Regions from separate parts of the Homo sapiens genome. Here regions 1 and 2 are each linked to region 3. Evidence: promoter capture Hi-C in 16 types of primary human blood cells and fetal thymus (Javierre and others, 2016). All regions are on one chromosome and are shown on one strand. The core of a region is centred on a gene start or on the middle of the fragment in contact, and the rest is flanking DNA. Distances in the headings are between cores, read along the strand shown. Region 1 overlaps EDEM3 (ER degradation enhancing alpha-mannosidase like protein 3). Region 2 has its middle 96 kb from the start of EDEM3. Region 3 holds the start of COLGALT2 (collagen beta(1-O)galactosyltransferase 2).

Region 1 (3,958 bases), core at 1,379-3,878, 660 kb after region 3:
AGGTCACTTAGAGTGTTTTGTGAAGGCAGCATAATCAGAATGCCACAATACTCGGATGCATCTTCCCAAAAGAGCCTCTAACCCCCAAAACCAAGAAAGGCGAGCTTCCTTTAATTAGAAGGCTATCCAAACTCCTATTCCCCACTCCACTACTAAATGAATTTTGTTTCTTGTCTATCCAGAGACAACAGAAATCTGGTTCGCAGGAATGCTCAGTAATCTTTCCCTGGCCTGAGGTGTTGCAGGGTGGTGCAGTGCTGCATTTGAAGGGGGAACTGTGGATTTCCATTTTTGATGGGACAGTTTTAAACAAGGTCAATTCTAACACAGCATGCTCCAGATTCCTACGATAACTACGCCAGTCAGAACGTGGTTGTTCATCACCATACTTAAAGCCTCCCATTAGAAAGCCTGCTTAGTATTAGGATGTCTATTAACCACACACAGTTTACCTTTTCTTTTTAAATACCTACCAACAGATTGTTTAGCAAGTCATAGCTCATCCTTCTCCATCATTTCAAATGCTTCTATATCTTCATTCCAGTCTGCTAATATGGAGTCTATAGGCTGGACCTTTTTACCCCAGCTAACATTAGGATTGGAATCTTCCTCAGTTTCTGATTGTTCTTGAAGCTGGTTATCTAAATCTGTACATTCACCATTAAGATTTGTAGTCTCATGGTTTTCTGTGGGATTAGAAGTCTGTTCAGAAGGGGAAATGCTTGCAGCATTGTCCATATCTGCTAGAGATAATGATTCTGGGTGAGAATTTAGAGAATTTTCCTCAGAAGACTCTTGATCAACCAAATCAACCTCCTGAGAACTTGATGAAATCTGTTCACCACTCTGATTCTGAGAATCATTTTCAGAGGATGGTTGTTCTTCATTTTCCATTTCAGGATCTGTATGAGAAAGAAACAAACCTCATGCTACTTCTCTAAAAAAATGTACTATTACACTTTCCAAAGCATATTGGTTTTTGCAACAAGATGAAATAAAACGTGAAAGAGACTCATGTTAATGCAGAAAGGTGAGCATCAGCACTGAAATGAAGACTGTCTTTATGCAGTCACATTTTCCTATAGATTCACTGTGCAAAATGTGTCAGTGTTAGAAAATAAACGTTCTTCCAAATTGGAAGGAATGACAATAACTAAGACTGACATCAGTGGACATTAGTAAGCCAAGAAGTACGCTAACCAATAATAATATTAAAATATATAGAGATTTGCAATGTATGGCTAAAATGTATTAGATACCTAAAGCTTATGCATAAGAACATATTAAACAGAATCAATTTTAAACAGCATATATCATTGCTATATTTTCAAATAATATTCCTTTGAAAAGTGAAATTCCTACTCAGTAAGTCATAAAGAAGCAGATAACATAGATTTTTTTGAATGACTAAGGGTATTAATGTGACTGATCAGAAATACTTTCACAAGACAAGAACTGAGATTATTCATAAAATTCTATTATTTTAGGCCTATGAATTATAAGATATAGTCATTTTAAAATCCACTGGAAGGCTGAAGAGTGAGTTAAACCTCTTATAATGAATATACAGTGAAACCAGTAGAGGCATTTTATTTAGGGTTCCTACAAGAAAGTGCTTAAATAGCATCGACGCCTACATGCTACATCCTGTTCAGTCTCTGCCTCTGTGATGCAGTTGGCCAGCAAATATCCTCCAAGTCATCATTTGCATAGTGCTAGGGATAAAATGAGGAGCAATACCAAATGCTATACCTGCCCTTATGGGTCTTATAGTCCAACGGGAGAAAAAGATATTATACAAATAATCACGGAAAATAAATAGAAAACTCAACTGTGACACGTTATGAAAGAGAGATAAGGATTTTGGATGCTCAAGTCCCTTATGTAAAATGACACAGTATTTGCATATAACTGACACACATCCTCCCATGTACTTTAAATCATCTCTTGATTACTTTATAATACCTAATACAACGTAAATGTTATGCAAATCATTGGTATACTGTATTGTTTGGAGAATAATGACAAGAAAAAAAATCTCTGTATGTTCAATACAGATGCTTTTTTCTTCTTGAATATTTCCTATCCACAGTTGGTTGAATCCATGGGTGCAGAACCCACAGATACAGAGGGAGAACTGTAAGGAGATTTGAGAAGTTTCTTCAAAAAGTTCCTTCAGAAAGTGACACTTGAGCTGGGGTTTAAAGTATAAGATAATGTCAAAGAAGGGAGGGAAGAGGATTTATTTAAAAACCAGAAAAAACAAAGGAAATGTAGACATGCAGGAAGGTGTGGTGGGTATTGCTGGGGCACAGAAAACAATTCCCCAAAATATGGTGCTTCAGCATGATGAATGCTTGGAAAACTGAAAGGTCTCAGAAATAAGCCTCAGAACCAGTCTGTCTCTGACCTTCCCCTGCCTCCCTGTCTCTCTGATCCTCTTTCCTGAAGCAACTGGGGGGATTCTCTCTGGAATTTTCTTATCTAAGGAAGCTTCTTTCCAAATGAAATGCAATTGTCTCAAGAATCCCTCCCTAGGACTCTCATCAAATAACGAGAAAAAAAATGAGCCATCAGAGAAGAGTAGAGACAGGGGTCCTCACCACACCCAAACAGACTTTTCTTCTGTTCTTCTGAGGACAGCTGAGAGATTAACTGGGGGACTTTATCTAGATACTATGCAAAGAGAATCCTTTACCAATCATTGTCTAAGCACTGGACCTCTTCATTCCCTAGTATTCCTCTACCCTAAGAAGAGGGTATTTAAGCTTCAACCACCTGTCCCCTTTCATATTTTGTATGGCTCCTGTGCACACACGTACACATAATAAAATTATTATGCTTTTCTGTTGTTAACCTGTTTTTGTTTTTTTTTAACCCGGGGTGTCCGCTGTAACCCTTTATGATGGGGAGGAAAGGATCACCCCTTTCTGCCCCTACAATGCATATATGTTCACCCTGATTAGATGGGATTACTTGACTCTGAAAGTTTACATTCTTAGGGTTTTTTTTCCGGAGGGGAGGATCAGCAGGGGGTGGATTGAGGAATTCCACACAATCTCTGTCTTCTAAGCTGTGAAAAAGGTACAATTTAATTAGGCAATTAGGGAAACCAATGGTGCAGACCAAAGAAAGAAGGTAGCTGGCTACTTACAGCTTATTTATCCTAGGTTCCCTAAATTCAAGAGAGAACAAAAAGAAAAATCTCCAAGTTTCTTTCTAGATTGTATTATTCCAGATTAGAAGGAGAGGAAAAGGTGTAGGGTTGTTTTACCTGGTAATGAAGATTGTGCTTGTGATAAAAAACTCTCCTAGGGTTACATATACGATATTATTTTGGAAATCTAGCTGATGTAATCGGACAAGAAAGTAGAATAATCAATGTAAATATAGAAAAAGATCAAATTATTTGTATTTTCAGATTGTGATCGTACACTGTCAAAGCAACTTTAATAAAAAAATACTATTAGAATTGATAAAAAAAATTTGGTAAGAAGACTATGCAAATACCAATAACTCCTTTGTAGTAACAATAAATAGTTAAAATATAATCATTAAACCTTTTCATAATAAAAAGCTACAAAACATAGAATTAAATTTATTATAAAAGGTATAAGACCCACGTTGCTTAAATAAAATCATAATGAGAACATAAAACAAGATTTGATTAAATTTATAGGTATATTCTTAAATGAAGTCTTAATATTTAACATTTTCCTAATTTATATGTAAAGTATGCAATTATATAATTTCAAAATGAATCTCATTTGTACTTCTTGTTTTCGTTTTAGAACCAGATACAATTAATTTAAAGTTTCTATGGAACAGCATATGTCAAAGAGAAGCCAAGAAATTCTAAGAATCAGTGAGGGGAGAGTTGCCCTATCAGATAATAAAATATACTCAAAACAGCAAACTTTTATTATTGGCAAAGGAATAAACACATTAGTAGAAGAGA
Region 2 (3,907 bases), core at 178-2,677, 620 kb after region 3:
TCCAGGTTCTGCATTTCTAAAATGTCCTGGTTAATGACATTTCACTCACAACTTTTTTTTCCCTTTTGATTTATGGAAAATGTGAAGCATTCGCACAGGGAAGAAAATACAGCCTCTTTTCATTTTGCTTAAACCCAGGAAGGCTTTATTCAGTAGCACCTGTTTGGGTGGACTTCAACAAGCTTCTCCAAAATAGAAACGTTCCATTAGTAAACTGTTTAGGAAATAGACCGTGCTCAGAAATGAGCCTGCTGAAAGAGCTGCAAAGTTATTCTGCCGTTTCATCCTTGCTTATTTTCCCCCCATGGAGTTTCATGTCTTATTTTTAAACTATGTTTCACTTTAAGTGACAAAGCAGCCCTTTGGAAATTATATATAAAGTCTATTATTTTAATTTGTTTATTAAAAATTATTTTGTCTCTTAATTAGTGTTAGATCCAAAAGAGTGCTGCTATGTTTATTTACATATGTATAGACATATGTACATATATGTTATGTATATTTCTTGCTATGCATGTAATATATAAGCATTGTACATTATATATTATATAACTCAGATAATATATAATATTTATATATAAATGTTTATATGCTATGTATATTTACATATATACACACATGTATATATGTGGATATATAAATAAAGCACTAAGCATGGAACATATACATAAAGCACTAAGCATGATATATATATATGCTTATATATAATATATATAATATATGTATTATATTATATATAATTCCAGATATATAATGTATGCTTAATCCTTTATGTATATTTTCCAGTCAGTCCTTACAATTCTGTAATGCAATTGTTAGTTCTCCATTTTTCAAGCAAAGAGCCTCATTAGAGAATTTGCTTCTCTAGCCCAAGGATGTGCAGTCATAACAAACTTGGTATTTCACCTCAGTGCTGATTCTAGAGCCTGTGTTTTCCCTCCTGTCCATCATTCTGATTTTCTCACAGCTAACAATATAGGAGCATCAGATATTCCTGTATTGGATGGAACAGAAAGGAAGCTAAGAGCTCATCCACTTCACCTTCATTTTATGGGAGGAATGGGAGCCCAGAGAATTGAAATGACTTGCTCAAATGTACGTAATTAACTGACAAGAGCCGTCACTTCTCAGCATCTCCTTTTACTCCAGAATTCTACTCACATAGTAGAATCTCACTCAATGTGAGAGTTTATTGGAATTTACTCCCCCAAATGAAACTAGATTTATTTTATTTTCTTTATATGTAAAGGAATTCATGATTTAAAAAACAGCATTCACTCTGTCCACATAAAATCGTGAATATGCACAAAGGGATGTATGAAAGATGAACTCTAAAATACTCATGGTAGTTATCTCCAGGTAGTGGGATTTCAGATTATCTGTCTCTTTCTCTATACTTTTTTGTGTTTGAACGTATATATATATATATAATTAGAACATGCAATAAGGTCAGATGCTCAGTTAATAACCCCTTGTGTAGTTTTTCTAACATTCTCATGTTCATGTAACAATATAAAAACATGTATACATGTATTTAAGGGTTGTCAATATTTGTTTTACAAAAATGTTTTTTCCCTATACATTCTCTGAAGTTTGTTCTATCACTTAAAAACGTTTTGTGAAAATCTCTCCAAATCAATTGGTAAAGCTCTATTTAAATAGTGCCCAACATTACATGGTTAAGAATATGCCATGATTTTACCCATTCCCCTTTCAATGAATTCTCAGTTTGTTTCTTGATGTTTGCCACCACAAGCAATGCTGCAGTGAATATCCTTATACTGGTGGCTTTATTTCTATAGAACAGACTTCCAGTAGTTGAACTGGTAGTAAAGTCCTCCTTTGCTACTCTCTCCTCATTATTTTATGTGTATTCTTGGACATACATAGTCTTCCACATGAATCTTAAAAAATTCTGTATCTAATTAAATAAAAACCTTACTTAAATTCCACTTAAATTAAAATTCCATTAATTATACATGTTACTATTGAGGAAAATGACATTTTTATGGTGTGAAGTTTTCCTTTCCATACTATATATTTTGATTACTTTTCTGATCTTGCTTTAGATCATTTGATAAAATATTATAGCTAACTTCATATGGCTCCTGTGCCTTTCAGGTCTATATTTATATCCTGTAAAATTTTCATATTAATTCTAATATTATGATATTTCTTGAATTTTCTAGGTATAAAATTACATTACTAAAGTATGATCTTTCATCTCTTCTTTTTCCATATTTATGCAAAATATTTCAATTTTTGCCTTCTTGCATTTACTAGAATTAACTAATGTTGAATTTTGGGGATAATGAGCATGTCTTTTCTGTTCTTGATTTTAATGAAAATGGTATTCTCATTTCATTATTTATGATGATGTTTGCTATTGATATTTGTTCATCATTATCATATTTTCATACTTTTCTATTTATAACTTTACTTAGTTTTTTGACTAATAATGTGCTTTAATATACTGATATAATGAATTTCATTAATATATTTATTAATATTGAACCATTCTTATATTCTTGTATTTTTATAATAAGCCCTCCTTGGTCAAATATTATTACTATTATGATACATTGTTCTCTTTGCTCATTCTTTCTTAAACATTTTTGCAATAATATGTATTAGTATGCTTGCATGATAGTTTTCTTCTGTTTTAAACCTTTTAAAGCTTTCCCACTCAAGTTATTCTCAATTTATTCATAGGGAATTTTTTTCTTATTTTCACAGTTATGTGTATCTCTTATGGAATCCTGTAGCTAGAATTTTCTTCCTAATTTGTTTTTTAACTAATTTTTAACTAATTTAAAAGCTGAAGAAAACAATGATTTTAAAATGCAAGCCACTGTTTCCTGAAAAGACTGAAACTCAAATTCACTTTTGGTAGACTGTCCTTTTATTCTGGGAAAACCATATGAAGAAACCGTGTGGTTTCATAAAGTTTATTCAGAAAAAACCTAGTAAAATCATCCCTCTCCCAAAAGAAATATTTTTGCCTCAGAAGCTGAGTGTTCTGCAGGGTGATGCTAACATGTGTCTGCTTGTGCCAGAGCTCAGATTTCTGTAGACTGGGTTATGTTTTCTTCTGACTGGAGATTTCATGTTTGTTTTATGGTGAGGAGGGAGGGAAAGAGAAAAATAGGAGAAATGTTTTCCTTTTCTGAATGATTTAGAATGCACCCTATATCAAACGCATGAGGATTTTTAAAGCATAATTTGCAAGATGTAGAGAGCTGGAAAGAAGTGCTACAGGACCAAATCCCATGTATGACACAGTAAGAAAGAAATGGACTGGCCTAGGGCAGCTCTGCCTAAACCATTTTGTAAGATTAAGCCACCCAGAATCTGCTGAAGAGAAACCAGCTTGAGGTGGCTGTCCCACCCACTCCCCACCTGTGTGTGTAAAATGGCATTCCCCAAGAAAGAGGCAGTCATTCCCCCTTTGAAAAAATGCTGAGAAAGGGTAGATCCTAACACAAGAAATGGAGCCTGGGAAGCCAGGCCCTGAGTTGGGCTGAGGCAGAGAGCATTTTCTTCTCTCCTGACCTTGGGCAGTTGGGTCTGGACAGGAAGTCATGATGCAGGGGTGGGCAGGCCCAGCCAGTGGAGCCTGGCCCCAAAACCCTCTGCAGAGGCCAAGGATAGGCCCACCTGGACCTGTGAGCCCTGACAGTGGCCACCTCTAACATTAATTATGACCTATTCTCTACTGTGTCCTACTTCCTTTTTGATGTCCCCAGCCCTTCAGAAAATTCCTCTAAAGAGCACCAATACTGAGGGTAGTGAAGGAGGCTGCTCCCTCACTGTGGAGGAAGAAGAAAGCTGTGTCTTCTCTGCCACGCCACCTCCCCAAAAGCAGATCACTGTGGGAGTGTAGTTAGTCCCCCGCCTCTATCTCTCC
Region 3 (4,036 bases), core at 196-2,695:
GGCGGGCAGGCACCCGCACTTATCCCCTGGCCCTCCCCGCAGCAGACACAGGGACCAGGTCCAAGCTTCTTTCCTCCGGGGACAAAACTTGGCTGTTTATCTTTCCCAGGGCATCTTCGTCTCTCCCCGGGACGTGGAACCCCGATGCACCGGCAGGGACAGCCCGGAGCGCTCGCAGGAGACCAGGCCCACGGTGGTGCCATGGTTGGGCACACTCCGCGGGCTCCGCCCAATCTCCACCCCTAGGTCCAGGTCCCCCTAGGAGAGCTAGGAGCACATTTCCAGCCTGGAGCAGGAGCCCGGCACCGGAAAGTCAGAGCAGCGCACTGCGGCGCCCCAGCCACTGCGGAGCCCCTGGCCAACCGCAGTTACGTTCCATCTGTCGTATCTACATGGGAATACGGCGACAGGCACCCTATCCCCTCACGTCAGGGCTAGCAGTATGAGGTGGGGAAAGAGGAAACCTCGAGAGTTAAAAGCGAGGGAACTGAAAGTCCCCTTGAGGGGTGTCCCCCATGCCCCTTGTGGGACAAAGCCCCAATTCGCAGGCTACCCTCCAGAGCTCCAGCGGTCCGGTTCTCCCCATCAGCACCCTCTGCGCACACTGACCCGCGCGTCCCTCCGCAGCCTGACCGCCCGATCCGCCAGCCACCGGCGCGGGCAGCGAGGGGGTGTGTGCGCCAGATTTTCCGCGTGCCCCCCCGCCCCTCCAGCGGCTCCCTCGCCCTGCAGCTGCTGCTCCGGGCGCTGTCCGCGCTGGGCAGGCCGCCCCCGCGTCCCGCCGCGGCGGCCCGGGGCCCGTGCGCGCTCACCAGATGGCCATCCTGCTCTTGGGGTAGTCCAGCCGCTCCAGGCAGCCGAGGAAGTGCGGCAGCGTGTGCGCCGCGTTGCGGGCGAGGACCGCCACGAGCACCGTGGGGCTCTGCAGGGGCGACTCCGGGAAAACCACCGGCTCCTCTCCGTCGTCCTCCGAGTCCCGCTCGGCGACGAAGCGCGCTCGGCAGCCTTCGCGGAGCAGGGCTGAGGAGAGGAGCAGTAGCGACCAGGCGAGGGTGGCAGCAGGGCGCGCAGCCATGTTCCGGGCCGAGGCGGGCGGCGGGGAAGTCCTGGCGCGAGCGCCCGGCTGGGCTGCCTGAGGGCGGCGGCGGCTGCCGGGGAGCAAGGGGCTGCGAGGGGCGGCCGGGGGATGCGGCTTGCCGCGGCCGGCCGGCTCACACACTGGCCTCGGCGGCTGCGGTTCCCAGGACCCTCCCGCCGCCGCTGCACCGCCCAGGCCCCAGTGCGGGTGCGCAGCGTACCTGCAGCCGCTGGCGCTCCCCTGCGCCTCGGGCTCGCAGACAGTAGTGGCCGAGGGGCTGTGTGCCCTGAGTCCTGAGGAAAGTTCCTCTAGTCCAGGTTCCGCTCGTACAGCTGAGGTCTGTGGCCTTCCCTAGAGCCGCGAGTTGTGGCCCTGTCTGCCAATGAGCCTGTGAGTGTGTGTGTGTGTGTGTGTGTGTGTGTGTGTGTGTGTACATAACGGTACAACCCCAAGAAAATTTATTCTGCTTTTGCAAACCGCAGACTGAAGCCCTTCACAGTGATGCAATGTATCCAGTTTTCATAATGCACCTATTGACTGAGTAGAGTTCTAAAATGAAAAGTCTCCCCAACTATTCACGATTATGACAAACACTTGTTTAACCACCGCAAAGGCAGCATGTCGCATTTTCTTATATACTCAACTTCTGAAATTCATTCTTGACTGAGTAGACACCTAATAACACAAAGTTTGAAGACTTGGAGAATTTTGGAGCCAGATCAGACCCCGCAAAATAAAAGAAAGCCCTTGGGAGACACTGTCCTGAAGCCTCACTCTACTGTGAACCCAGTAAGCCTCCTCACAGGAGGGCTGTGAAAGAATAAATTCACTTAGCTGGTTTTCTTTTTCCGTAATAAGCCAATATGATAGAGTAACAAAGAGGGAAAATTCGCGCATGTTGGAGAGCAGAGAAGAGATAAGGAAGAAAAGAAGGGGTGAAGGAAGAACACAATTAGCACATAAAATGAAACTGCTGGCATACACTGCTAAAGGAGATTTACTTTTTTTTTTTTTTTTTTTTTGAGACAGGGCCTCACTCTGTTGCCGGGGCTGGAGTGCAGAGGCACGATCACAATTCACTGCAGCCTCGACCTCCTGGGCTCAAGCAATCCTCCCACCTCAGCCTCCCGAGTAGCTGGGACCACAGGTGTCCATCACCACGCCTAGCTAATTTTTTTTTTTTTTTTTTTTTTTGTAGAGACGGGTTTTCACCATTTTGCCCAGGCTGGTCTGGAACTCCTGGGCTCAAGTGATCTGCCCAACTCGGCCTCCCAAAGTGTTACGATTACAGGCATCAGCCACCATGCTCGGCTGGATATTTAGTTTTGAAGATATATTGTGTAGCCTTTGATAGATAAGTATGGAGGGTGTTTTGGTGCCAGTGCACATTCATGATCTCCAATCCCAACTCACCCTCAGGTCTGTCCCATAGTCTTTTTATTAGTTGTTATCAATCCTTCTCAGCAACTATTAGAAGTCTTCCCTACTGTCTTTTGAAGTATATCACCTCCTTCATCCAGCTCCCCCAACACCACTGTCTCCAACTAGCATCCCTACCAAGACCTTTCTTACTTGCAGGTGCCTCCTCACGACAGGGTCTTTGATCACAGACTAGAAAGGGAGAGGTCTCCCTTTCTAGCCCATGATTTTTCTCTATCATTCCACTCTCTACTGAATCTTCAACTGATCTCTATCAACTCCTTTCTCTCAAGCTAAATACTTGGTCAGTCTTCTCTTATCCGTTAAAAAAAAAAGAAAGAAAAGCTTTAAAAAAAAGTCCTGTGTCTTCTTCTAGTCATCCCTTTGCTTGACCAAGCTCCTTGGAAGAGAGATCTATACTTGTATTCTCCACTTCTTCATCTCCCATCTTTCCCACCACAGTGCAGTAAGGCGTCAGCCCTCCCCACTGTTCTGCAAAACCAACAGATGGCCTCAGCATTGGCAGATTCAGTAAACTCTTCCGTTCTCACCTTCCTGGACTTCGATTACATAATCTCCCATCCTAGATCTCCTCTGATACTACTTGTCTCTGAGCCAAGCCCCTTCACTGTGTGCCTCCCTATAGTGTGCTAGTCTTCCCACTCCATATGGTCTCCTGTGGTTATATCCTCAAAATCTATGTCTTCTGCTCTAATCTCTTCTCTAATCTTCATATTTTTTTATCGAATGGCCTACAGACATTTCCTTCCCCTCCATCCATTTTCAGGAATTGTTCCCACTTTCAAGGGGCTCACAGTCTTGTAGGGAAGACTGAGAGTTAAACATCTGTTAGAAGTACTGTAACAGATGTACCAGCTACAGTGAAGGGATAGAGGAAGATGTGGTCATTTCCACAAGGGAGGTAGTGATGGGACTGTTAGAAAGGTCCAGACAATCTCCATGTTGTTCTGTCTTTCTTGTTTCCCTTTCTTGAACTATGTCCCACTCATCTTTCAATACTAAAATCCGCACTCCTTAGCCAAACTTGGTTTGATAGTTATCATTTGTTCACTTTACTGCAAACAGAGGGAGTTTAAAGCTAGGCAACCACATTTCTGTCTTATTTTCCTTCTGTTACTGATATGGTCTGCCTATGTCCTCACCCAAATCTCACATCGAATTATAGCTCCCATAATCCCCACGTGTCGTGGGACGTAATTGAATCATGGGGGCAGGTTTTTCCCATGCTAGTCTCGTGATAGTGAATAAGCCTCACAAGATCTGATGGTTTTATAAAGGGCAGTTCCCCTGCACATGCTCCCTTGCCTGCCGCCATGTAAGGTGTGTCTTTGCTCCTCCTTTGCCTTCTGCCATGATTGTGAGGCCTCCCCAGCTATGTGGAACTGTGAGTCCACTAAACTTCTTTTTCTTTATAAATTACCCAATCTCAGCTATGTCTTTATTCACAGCGTGAGGACAGACTAATACAGTTACCTAAAGTCAACAGCTTATCTGAGTCTATTTTTTCAAAGAAAGGTG

What was found. The method cuts DNA at HindIII sites, captures the fragments that hold promoters and counts their contacts. A CHiCAGO score of 5 or more calls a contact.
Region 1: a contact is called between a fragment that was not itself captured here and the fragment with the promoter of COLGALT2 in region 3, in 2 of 17 cell types (megakaryocytes and M1 macrophages). The highest score is 5.7, in megakaryocytes.
Region 2: a fragment that was not itself captured here is called in contact with the fragment with the promoter of COLGALT2 in region 3 in 1 of 17 cell types (endothelial precursors); the score reaches 5.2 in endothelial precursors.

What each region holds. Positions count from the first base shown.
Region 1 is chr1:184,693,571-184,697,528 of GRCh38, forward strand. EDEM3 (ER degradation enhancing alpha-mannosidase like protein 3) reads right to left here. Exons shown (of 20, transcript NM_025191.4): 20 at 1-902. The coding sequence ends at 493. Among named protein-coding and RNA genes, the nearest start is that of EDEM3, 59 kb to the right of the region's middle. The HindIII fragment of the contact is 275 bases long and covers 2,492-2,766 here.
Region 2 is chr1:184,657,255-184,661,161 of GRCh38, forward strand. No RefSeq gene overlaps it. Among named protein-coding and RNA genes, the nearest start is that of EDEM3, 96 kb to the right of the region's middle. The HindIII fragment of the contact is 2,495 bases long and covers 181-2,675 here.
Region 3 is chr1:184,036,283-184,040,318 of GRCh38, forward strand. It overlaps COLGALT2 (collagen beta(1-O)galactosyltransferase 2), which reads right to left and starts at 1,446. Exons shown (of 12, transcript NM_015101.4): 1 at 813-1,446. The coding sequence starts at 1,075. RefSeq lists a silencer at 1,169-1,258. The HindIII fragment of the contact is 2,777 bases long and covers 64-2,840 here.